Linked DNA regions of Homo sapiens: regions 2 and 3 are each linked to region 1. The links are contacts of gene promoters, found by promoter capture Hi-C in blood cells and fetal thymus (Javierre and others, 2016). All regions are on one chromosome and are shown on one strand. Each heading gives the region's core, a stretch centred on a gene start or on the middle of the fragment in contact. The rest is flanking DNA. Distances are from core to core; before and after follow the strand shown.

Region 1 (3,671 bases), core at 148-2,647:
CAAACACACACACTAACCCAGAGCCCAGCCTCTGCAGCCCCTGCCATGTCAGCCAAGCATTTTCAGTTCATTTTCTCCTCGGCAAGCCTGTATTGAATCGCAGGCCTAGAAGTTTTATCCCCGTTTCACAGATTGGCAGGCCAAGACAAGACAAATTCAGTGATTTGCCAAGGGCCAGAGAAGGGAGTCCAAGTCTGCAAGCTTGCAAGGTCGCGTTCATGAGAACTTTCATCCTCCTGGGACCCGGCGGCAGGCACATGGGCCTGGATAGTTACTGAGAAAATTCTTTCAGAAGGGCTTTCGGGGACGTGAAGTCACCCCTGGCTTCCCGGGATTCTGGGTTGGGAGCAGCCGCGCAGGGGCGGTGAAGCCAGGGGCCAGGGCGGTCCGTGCTGCGGGCGGCTCCCCAAGGCCCGGTGCGCTGGGCTACCCGCCCGCTGGCCATGGACTTGCCGCCTGCAGCGCACATGGCTGGGGAGGAAGAGCCGTGGATTTCAGTCTGTACACCCAGACGACTAAGAAGCTGCCGCCCGCTAGCGGGGAGGGGACTCGGCCGGGAGGTGGCCCCCGCAGCCCGGCGCCGCCGCGCGTCCCATCCTCGAGGCCACCGTCGCTCACCGAACATCTGGCACGTGCCATTGGTGCTGGGGTGCTGCGTGAGCGGGCCCTGCCTTCGGGAAGTTTCCATTGGGGAGGAGGCGATCGATCAGACCACAGCAAACGAGCAAGATGACCACAGTGGCCCATGGAGGGGGAATAGGAGCTGTGTGGCGTAGAAACAAGGAAAGCCTCCCGCCCGGTGTGCACGGGGAGCTAGAAAGTGTGACCAGAGTGTTCGGGGCAGGGACAAAACCCAGCTTCTGGTGTCTTCTGCAAGGGGAAGAAGCCTTGCGGTGGGAGCCAGGGGAATCCCCGCGAAGAGGCGGCCCCGCACCTATCCCGGGGCTGGGACGAAGGGTTTGGCTTCTCTAAACGCAGCGGGAAGCTTTAAGCCAGAGCCACACAGAGCATCCCTGTCGCAGGAGAGTGCCCGGGGGTCCCAGGAGGGCGAAAGCACCTTTGGGGCCGAGACACTTCTGCTCCCATCACCCCCGCCCCAGCAGGGCGCCCCTGTGCGGGGAACAGCCAGCAATCAGGGACAGCGCCCCAGGCCCCGCTGCGCCAGCACTGGCAGGAGGGACGCATGGAGGCCGGACGGAACTGGGGAGGGGGTGCTGGCCAGGGTGGGCTCAGGCCCTCCCCACTAAGGCCAGCTCGGCCCAGGGCCTCCCTGCGCAGCCCAGCGCGCCTTGTCGGAGAGGCTCCTAGGACCGGAGGGGAAGCCGCTCTGAACCGGAATGATCTGGTTTGGAGCGGGTTGGCTCCCTCCCTGCTCCCCCGCCCACTGCTCTCCCTCTCCTCCAGCGACGGGCTGGTTTTTGCCGCAGTCCCTGACCAAGGTAAACAGGAGGGAAGAGGAAAGAAGGCTGTTTCCATGGCAACCCAGGGGATAGGCGCTGTGGCTCTCCGGGATATGCGGGGGTGACTTCAGGGAGAAGAAAAGGCTCCCCGGAAAAGCCACAGGGAGGAAGGACCCTCCCATGCACACGGTGGGGTGCGTTCAGAAGTGGGGGGATGGAGGGAAAAGGAGAGGGGTCAGGCACCCTCGGTGAAGTGGAGAATTGAGCAGGGGCCTGGGGACACAGAGACACATAAGGGCCAGGGGTCATACCGAAAATGCAAGCACACAGGCTCTTCTGGCCACTCAACCCAGGGAGCAGAAAACAGAGGTGCCAGAGCTCTCAGAGATTCCGAAATCCACACCTCTCTGGTCCTTTCCAGAAAACCCTTCCAGGGGGCAGCTCAGCCTGGGGACAACCACAGAAGTGGGACCTGGGCCCAAAGACAGGTGTCACCTGAAACAGGCCACTGTTGTCCGCCTGCAGTATGCTGGGAGGACCAGCTCCCGCTCCACCCTGCTCCCCCTGGGAGGAAGGCTGACCCCTGCGTGGGAGTGTGACTGCTGGAAAGGCATCCTTGCTGCAGCTGTGAGTGTGATGGGACAGCAGAGTCACTCCTGCATGGGATTCTAGGGCTGGGGGTCCCAGAGGGGTGGCCTCCGCCCCTCCTGGGGGCCGAGGACTGTCACCATGTCACTACGGCACTCTCCAGCTGCTGACCAAAGCCCTCGCTAACCGCAGCCCTGCCATACTCTGGGTCTTTCCTCTGGAGCAAGGTGAAGAGACTGCAGCGAGGCGTGGAATTGGGAAGCTCTTCTGGTTTTATTAAAAACTCGTTCCACCACAGGAGTCAGCCTGGCCACTCAGGTGTGGGGCGGGTCTCTCCTCATTTAGCTTTCACCTGCGTGCCCAGGGATAGGAGAAAAACGGCACAGAGGGAGGTTGTAGGGAGTAAGCATCCTGCCCTGGCAAAGCTGAGTGAACGTGGGTAGCTTCAGCCCAGTGAAGCAGCAGCAGGGACGCCTGTGGAAACCTGGGTGGAGGTGCCTTCTGACCTTGGTTTGTCTGGGCCAGGGGGCGAATGCTTCTGGCAGTGGAGCTTCCAGGCCCGGAAAACCCAGGCCTCTTCTCCTCACGTGGGCCCTCAGGTGCTTGTGGACTGCCCGGAGACAGAACAGAACTGAGGGTGGGAGGGCCTGCTTTTGCCTGCAGAACACCCTGAAATGTCCCATTTACCCAGCTCTCTCCAGGGCCCGCACAGTCCAAACTTCTCTGGCCTCAACTCCTACCACTGTGCCTTTGCTCACTCTCGACCAGCCACGGTGGCTTCCTTGCTGCTCCTTGAGCGGTCAAGCGTGCTCCCTCTTTCTGGAGGTCTCCTCCTCCAGTATCCACATGGCTGTGTGCCTGGCCTCCTTCAGTTTTTTAATGTGGTCTTCTCAATGAGGCAGAGCCAGGGCTAGGGTGAGGCGAGTGAGGCAGCAAGGGCTTTCCTGCCCTCTCTGGTTAAAACTGTATAGTCTTCCCCTCTGCTCAGGACTCTCCACTCCCTGTCCTCTTCCCAAAGAATGGAACACCATCTTGTTTAGTACACACCTTGTTTATTGCCAGACTTTCTCCATTGGAATGGAAGTGCCATGAGGACTGGAAACGTCTCTGCCTTGTTCTTGTTCTGTCTGTATTCTTTAGAGCCTAGCACATAGTAGATGCTCAGTGTACGCTGTCAGATGGAGGGGTGGATGGGGGGATAAATGGGGCCATGGGGTCAGTAGGCTGTGTCCTTCCCCAGTTCCCCTTCCAACAAGTGGGAAGTGTGCTGCGGCCTTAGAAGAGGCTGGCAGAGTGGCATAACACACTCCTGGTGAAGCACACGATGTGAGGCACAGAGGTTACAACTAAAAAGAAAAACAGACTGGCCTTAAAAAGATAACGAAGGTGGATGCTGTTACTGCCACCAGGCCCGTAGCCCCAGCCAGGCTTTAAGAGTCCTTCCACATCGACCAGGTGAGGTGGCTCATGCCTGTAATCCCAGCACTTTGGGAGGCCAAGGTGGGCGGATCACTGGAGGTCAGGAGTTCAAGACCAGCCTGGCCAACATGACAAAACCCTATCTCTATCAAAACTACAAAAAAAAAAATAGCCAGGCGTGGTGGCACTTGCCTGTAATTCCAGCTACTTGGGAGGCTAAGGCAGGAGAATCACTTGAACCCGGGATGTGGAGGTTGCAGTGAG
Region 2 (3,183 bases), core at 647-3,146, 610 kb after region 1:
CAGTATCTTGTTTGAGGGGGTGCTTACATGACTGTATAAATTTGTTAAAAACTCATAGAGTGGTACACAAAGAGAGAATTTTGCTGTTTATGAATTTCAAAATGTGAATTTAAAAATTACTGTGAAAAAATGTAGACTATCTTGGTAATTGCACAGTAGGATAGGAAGGTGTGAAAACTCAGACGCTGTGAAGGAAAAGACTTACAGATCTGATGACTACAAAATATTAAACTTTTATAGGACAAAAGTCACCCTAAACAAAAAATTAGGCCATCGGCTTGTGAATATATATATTCAGCAAATATTACAGACAAAGGACTAACATCCATAATGCAAAGGGTGCCTACAAATTAACATGTAAAAAGGTAAATACTATAAAAGACAAGTGGGCAAAGTACATGAGGTACAGGGTAAGTATAGGGAGTTCACAGAAACCAAAGAGTCAGTAGCTCGGAAGAGATTCACAACCTCACTTTCCATCAGTGAGCTGTGAATGAAAGCAATGATACAATATCATTTTCAACCATCAGATAGGCAAAGCTTTTAAAGATTGTTAAAACCCAACACCAGGAAGGGTGTGAGGCAACAGTCCCGTAGAGTTTTTGGGAGTGTATACATCTGTACAACTTTTTGAAAGATAATTTGGTAGTAGCTATCAAAAACCCAAACGTGCATACTTTTTGACTCAGCAATTTCACTTCTAGGTATTAATACTATAAAATACTCACATAGGTGCACAAATATATATATAAAAGATTTTTTATTAGAACATCATAGTAGTCAAAAATAGGGACCAAATTAAACATCTATCAGCAGAGGAATGGTTACATAAATGAAGTGAGTCCGTAGGGTGGGCTGCTGTGACAGGATGGATGACACATATGTGAGTACTGATAGAGTACTGTGTAAATTTATTTATAATGAAATGCATTATTAAGTGAAAAAAGCAAATAAGAAAACATGCATATTGTCCTATTTAAAAAAAATTACAAATCTACATGCACACACACATACACACACATAGAAGGTCTGGGTAGATACACATCAAAGCTCAGGCAGTGGTTCTTAAAGTAGGGGATCATGAAGGAAAGGTACACATTTAACTCAACAAAATTTGGTCTTACTGGAACTTTAAAAATGCAAATGTGTTTATGTTTTGTTTTATTTTGCTTAACAAATATCTTGGTATTTTACTAAGCTTTTAAGTTAGTGAAATAAAGAGGCATAATTCAAACATATTTATACACTTTAAATTAACTAAGCCCAAGTAGAAAACAAAAAGGTATATAATTCCCAAATCATGAATGAGAAGAAAGAATAAATTTGATTACTACAGTAAAAAAAGAAATAAGAAACAGGAAGTATTACAAATAGAAACCATAAAATAAAGTGACAGAACAAACACCAAGTATAACTTTTGTCATGACAGATGTGGCTTAAAAATATCTTTCAAAACACAAAAGACTCAGATTGAGTAAAAAAAATACAATTTAGTCGTAAGCTGTTTACAAAAGGAGAAACTGCAAAATGAAATTGACAGAGAAGGTAGAAAAGTAATGAGATGGGCAAGAATATCAGAGGCAAATGCAACCCAAAGAACCCATCCATGCATGCTAATATTAAAATCACATGAAATAGAATTCAGGATGAGAATATCAAATGGAACAAATATAATTATTTTTATATGAATAAGTGATATAATGTACTATGAAGGCAATACAGTCAATATAAATGCTTCCAAATAGGGAACTGGTGAATTATATTATGATACCTATTTATTTACAGTGAACCTCTACACAGCCAGGAAATTGCTAATGTAGAAAACATATAATGACCTGCAAATGTTACAAACTATAAAGCAAAAACAAGGTTGTATACTGTAAGTATGACATGATCTCAATTTCGTTTTAACATTTTATTAAAAAGAAAAACGACTGGAAGGCTCACAGTATCAGGGTGCCATGCGGAGGGAGGACAGACATAGCGAAGCAGTCCTGAAACAACACTCGGTCACGTGTGAGGACATAATAATGGGTGTTCAGCCTGGTGGCTGGACAGCTCTGCCTTCAGACCAGCTTTAGCTGCTATGTCTTTTCCCCTTTGTTTTCCAGCCTTCTCACTTCCTATATCTCTTGGCTCCGTAACAGGACTGCCTGGTAATAGCTCATAATCCTTTTTCCTGAGTCTAGTGTGTACCATTGTGAGCTATCACTCTTCCCGTAAGGTTTATGTGATTTCTGTATTTGGTTCCATTATTGATGTTGTGGGATATCCCATGGGAGGTGTCGAGACATTAGGAGGCCATAGATTGTGTTGGAAGCATTTAGGTGATCAGGGGAAGGTGCTGTGTGTTGCAAGGTGGCCAAATCCAATGAGAACAAGATGATCCCCTGGGGACAGATATCTGCATTGATCCTGGAGCTCCTATTGAAGGCTTTCTGTCTCCCCTGATAACATCTTCATAGCATCTCATGGGGATTGGGTTGTTGTGGTGCTGAGAAGGGAATAAATTAAGAGAAAATTGAGAAAATACTGCTATGGAAGAAGGGGGTCTTGATTTATATAAGCCGTGGTCAACATGTTCTCCCTGCAGCTAAGCTTGAGGTAGTACATTGCCTCTTCTCTGATGCTGGGTGCCATCACGAGGCCAGAAAATGTTCCTAGGTTTGGTGAGCCACATTAATCTCTGTCCTTCTCTGAATTACCTTGGAACACTGGAATTTAAAATGTATCCTAGACTGGTACCAGTAGGGACAGGGGAATTTAAGTTACTGACAAGAGTAGTTGAGGAATAGATTGGACACTGACAATAACATCTCAGGGGAAATAATTGGGGGAAGACTAGTGCCAAAACTACAGTAGGAATCTGTTACTCTGGGACACAGATGCAGGGTTAATTGGAATGAAATGTTACTACTTAGTGTGTAAAGGGAGGAAACTTTACTAAATTTCAGTAGATTTCTATGAGACAGAAAGGATATGCAGACTGGAAATCTTCTCTTGCCCTTTACTATCTGTGACTTAGGGCAAACCCCCTAGAACGGTGGTTCTTAAAGCTGAGCCTGCACCAGAAGCATCTATAGGGCGTGTTAAAATCCTGATGGCTTGTCTCCCTGCCAATCTCCCACCCCAGATTTCTGACCGGGTAGGTCTGGGGTGGGACCTTAGAGTTAGCTTTTTCTT
Region 3 (3,502 bases), core at 154-2,653, 680 kb after region 1:
TTTTACTTATTTGTAAATATTTTTATTTTTATTTTCTTCTTGAAGGGATATGTTTTCTAAAATTCTAGTTGACTTTTTTTTTCTTCAGCATTTTAAAGATTTCCCATTGCTTTTTGGCTTCCATTGTTTCTTTCTTTTCTTTTCTTTTTTTTTTTTTTTTGAGACAGAGTCTCGCTCCGTCCCCCGGGCTGGAGTGCAGTGGCACAATCTCAGCTCACTGCAAGCTCTGCCTCCCAGGTTCATGCCATTCTCCTGCCTCAGCCTCCCGAGTAGCTGGGACTATAGGTGCCCGCCACCACGCCTGGCTAATTTTTTGTATTTTGTAGTAGAGACGGGGTTTCACCATGTTAGCCAGGATGGTCGCGATCTCCTGCCCTCGTGATCTGCCCGCCTTGGCCTCCCAAAGTGCTGGGATTACAAGCATGAGCCACCATGCCCAGCTTTCTTGTTTTTTTTTCCAGCTCTGTCACCCAGGCTGGAGAGCAGTGGCACGATCTTGGCTCACTGCAACCTCCACCTCCCAGGTTCAAGCCATTCTCATGCCTCAGCCTCCTGAGTAGCTGGGATTACAGGCACATGCCACCGTGGCCAGCTAATTTTTTTATTTTTAGTAGAGACGGGTTTTTGCCATGTTGGCCAGACTGATCTTGAACTCCTGACCTCAAGTGATTCACCCACCTCAGCCTCCCCAAGTATTGGGATTACAGACATGAGCCACTGTGCCCAGCCTGCTTCCATTGTTTCTAGTAAGATGTCAGCCATAGTTCTTATTGTTGTATGTACTGTGATATATCCCTCTCTGCCTTCCCCCTTCCCCCAGCCGCTTTTGAGATTTTCTCTTTATTTTTGGTTCTCTGCAGTTTGACATTTATGTATGTGCCTCAGCATAGTTTTCTTTTTGTTCATCTTGCTCAGGGTTTCCTTAGCTTAGTGGTGCTTTGGGTTTGTTCACCTTCAAATTGGGAAGATGTTGGTCATTATTTTTTAAAGTATTTTTTCTTCTCCATTCTCTCTCTCCTATTCTTCCGGGACTTGAATTATATATATTAGATCACTTCAAATTGTCCCACAGATCAGTGATTCTTTATACATTTTTATTTCAATCTTTCTCTCTTTTTTTCTTTCAGTTGAAACATACAACTTTTTTGATGATACACAAATGAAGCTTTTGGTGGATAAATTGAAGTCAAAACAAATAACAAAACAGTATGTCATTTATAATAGACAGGTTCACTGTCAATTCAGAGGAACCAGTAAAAAATATTTCAATCCAAGCAGCATGATTAAAATCACAAATATGTTTTCAGCACAAGAGGACTATTTATTTGATATTCATAAGATGGTTCAGCTTGAAGCAGGTGACTGTCACAGATAACATCACTCTGGGTGAGACATTATTCAAAACTAGCAGCTGAAAGGATCCCTTTATTATATGACTAAGTGGAAAAGCAGTAACTTTCAATTTTCAATGCCTCCAGCTGCAAAACCAAGAAATTTCTTGAAGTCTTTTGAGAGCACATAACCAATTAGAATTTGTTCACTAGTTTTATAACTTTCACTTTCACCGAGAGGTCATCTGATTTGCTAAGGCTCTAATTTTCTTAACACACACTCCAAATGCAATGCATACGTTTGAAAAGGGAAGCTTTATTGAATTCTCTATAGCTGAACACTTCTACTCTGAGATTGTCATAGATGATCTCAAATATAGTAAGGGCATCAATAAAAATTTCTTATTCCACATAAGAATTGTAGAGATAATTAAATATGTAGACACTTGGGTACTGAGAAGTTTTTTCTTTTTTTAGCATATCTGATTTTCAGCAAAATTCAAAATTATTTTCAAAATCTCAACCTTGATTCTTAGCCACCAAAGCCATAAAGGGTGCACCCCTGCCACTTAAACACATAGACTACGCCCATGGCTGTTACATCTTGCACTTGGCATGCTTGGTGTGACATCATCCTGGATCACATTCTCCAGAAACACCTTCAAAACCTCCTGGATCTCCTCATAGATGAGGCCAGAAATGCTCTTGACACCATCACACCAAGCAAGATGCCAGATAGGAGGCTTGCAGATAGATGCCTTGCAGGCTGTCATACGTAGGACCTTGCAGTGACACTTAGTTCCTTCCTTACCCAGTCCTTTTCCACCTTTGCCTCAGCCAGACATGACAAAACAGATGCTTTTTCTTTTTGTGGTTCAGTTTGCAAAAATTTTATGACCTGTGTTCAAATTTCACTGATCTTTTTTTCTGTGGTGCCCAATATGATGTTAAGGGTACACAATGAATTTTTCATTTCATATATTGTATTTCCCATGTCTTCACCTATTCCTTCTTTCTTTCCTTGTAAATTCCTAACTATATTTATAGTAGTTGTTTTAAAGTCATAAGTCTGCTAATTCCTCTGTCTAGGTCATCTTGTGGGTCTCCTATTGATGATTTCTTTCTCTTATGTATCAGATTTTTTTTGCATCTTCCCATGTCTCAATATTTTACCGTAAGGCAAAAATTGTGTATAAATGATAGTGGATACTGCTGTATAATATTTTGTGTTTTGTTTTCACAGAACTTTCAAATCCTTCCTTCCATTCAGGTTTATGGGATAATGGGTTGTTTGTCCAGTGCCAACTAAGATGTGAAGACTGGAATTGGGCTACAGTATTAACCCCAGCTTCCTGCATTGTTGCCACTAAGTGGTTCATCCCTTTGATACTGTCAGAATTTAACTGGAAGGAGATTAGTTGCCACATGAGTTGGTTTGGATGACTTTTGGATTCAACTACAATTAGGCTTTAGAATCAGAACACTCAAGACTGCACAAACTTTCTCTAGTTTCTAGCCTCATGCCCACTGATACTTCAGGATACCCCTTTGTCACTTTTGCAGCAAATTCTTAGAGTGGAGAGGGAATTGTTGGACTAAATAATTTATGTTTGCATTAGAGCTCTTCCAAATTCCAATTCGTCTTGCCAGCCCATGCTATTATTAAGTATTCAATGGATTTTTTTTTTTGTTCTTTGAAAAATTTCTCTATCTATAGCTAGGCCACTTCTCTACTCACCTATGCCCAGAGTAGACATTGGCCTCTATATATAAAAATGTCCACAACTCTTTACTCATATGTAAAGGGCTTGCTATACTCTGCTGTTTAGTTTATTATGCCTATTTGTATCTACTTCTCGATGGCTTTGGGGATAAGTGTGAGAGTTTTTTTGTTTTATCTGTTTTTTTTTTTCTTGTTACTCTGGAAGCAGTAGTTTCCACATTTTATTATATTTTTATTAGGTGGGATGTTCTGTAAATGTCTACTAGGTCTAGATGGTTTGTATTGCTGTTGAAGTCATCTTCTCCTTTTGTAAAAAATTTTCTGCCTAGTTGTCCTATCCATTATTGAAAGTGGGGCACTGAGGTTTCCATACATTATTGTTGGATGATCTGTCTCATCCTTCAATCCGATTTTCTTCTTTTAACTCATGTTATATGCCATCTACTGC

What was found. Contacts are between HindIII fragments. The CHiCAGO score rates a contact against its expected background, and 5 or more counts as called.
Region 2: a contact is called between a fragment that was not itself captured here and the fragment with the promoter of LINC03008 in region 1, in 1 of 17 cell types (erythroblasts). The highest score is 5.8, in erythroblasts.
Region 3: a fragment that was not itself captured here is called in contact with the fragment with the promoter of LINC03008 in region 1 in 2 of 17 cell types (megakaryocytes and erythroblasts); the score reaches 6.1 in megakaryocytes.

The regions. Positions count from the first base shown.
Region 1 is chr7:130,140,334-130,144,004 of GRCh38, forward strand. It overlaps LINC03008 (long intergenic non-protein coding RNA 3008), which reads left to right and starts at 1,398. Exons shown (of 2, transcript NR_149034.1): 1 at 1,398-1,439; 2 at 1,926-2,285. RefSeq lists enhancers at 632-1,295, 708-787, 968-1,107, 1,296-1,959. The HindIII fragment of the contact is 6,567 bases long and covers 984-3,671 here.
Region 2 is chr7:130,750,577-130,753,759 of GRCh38, forward strand. The region is part of intron 3 of LOC105375508 (a long non-coding RNA gene); the gene reads left to right. Among named protein-coding and RNA genes, the nearest start is that of KLF14, 18 kb to the left of the region's middle. The HindIII fragment of the contact is 1,400 bases long and covers 1,197-2,596 here.
Region 3 is chr7:130,821,336-130,824,837 of GRCh38, forward strand. All of the region lies in intron 3 of LOC105375508 (a long non-coding RNA gene), which reads left to right. All of the region lies in intron 2 of LOC105375509 (a long non-coding RNA gene), which reads right to left. It also overlaps the pseudogene LOC347674 and the pseudogene H4P1. Among named protein-coding and RNA genes, the nearest start is that of MIR29A, 54 kb to the right of the region's middle. The HindIII fragment of the contact is 480 bases long and covers 1,164-1,643 here.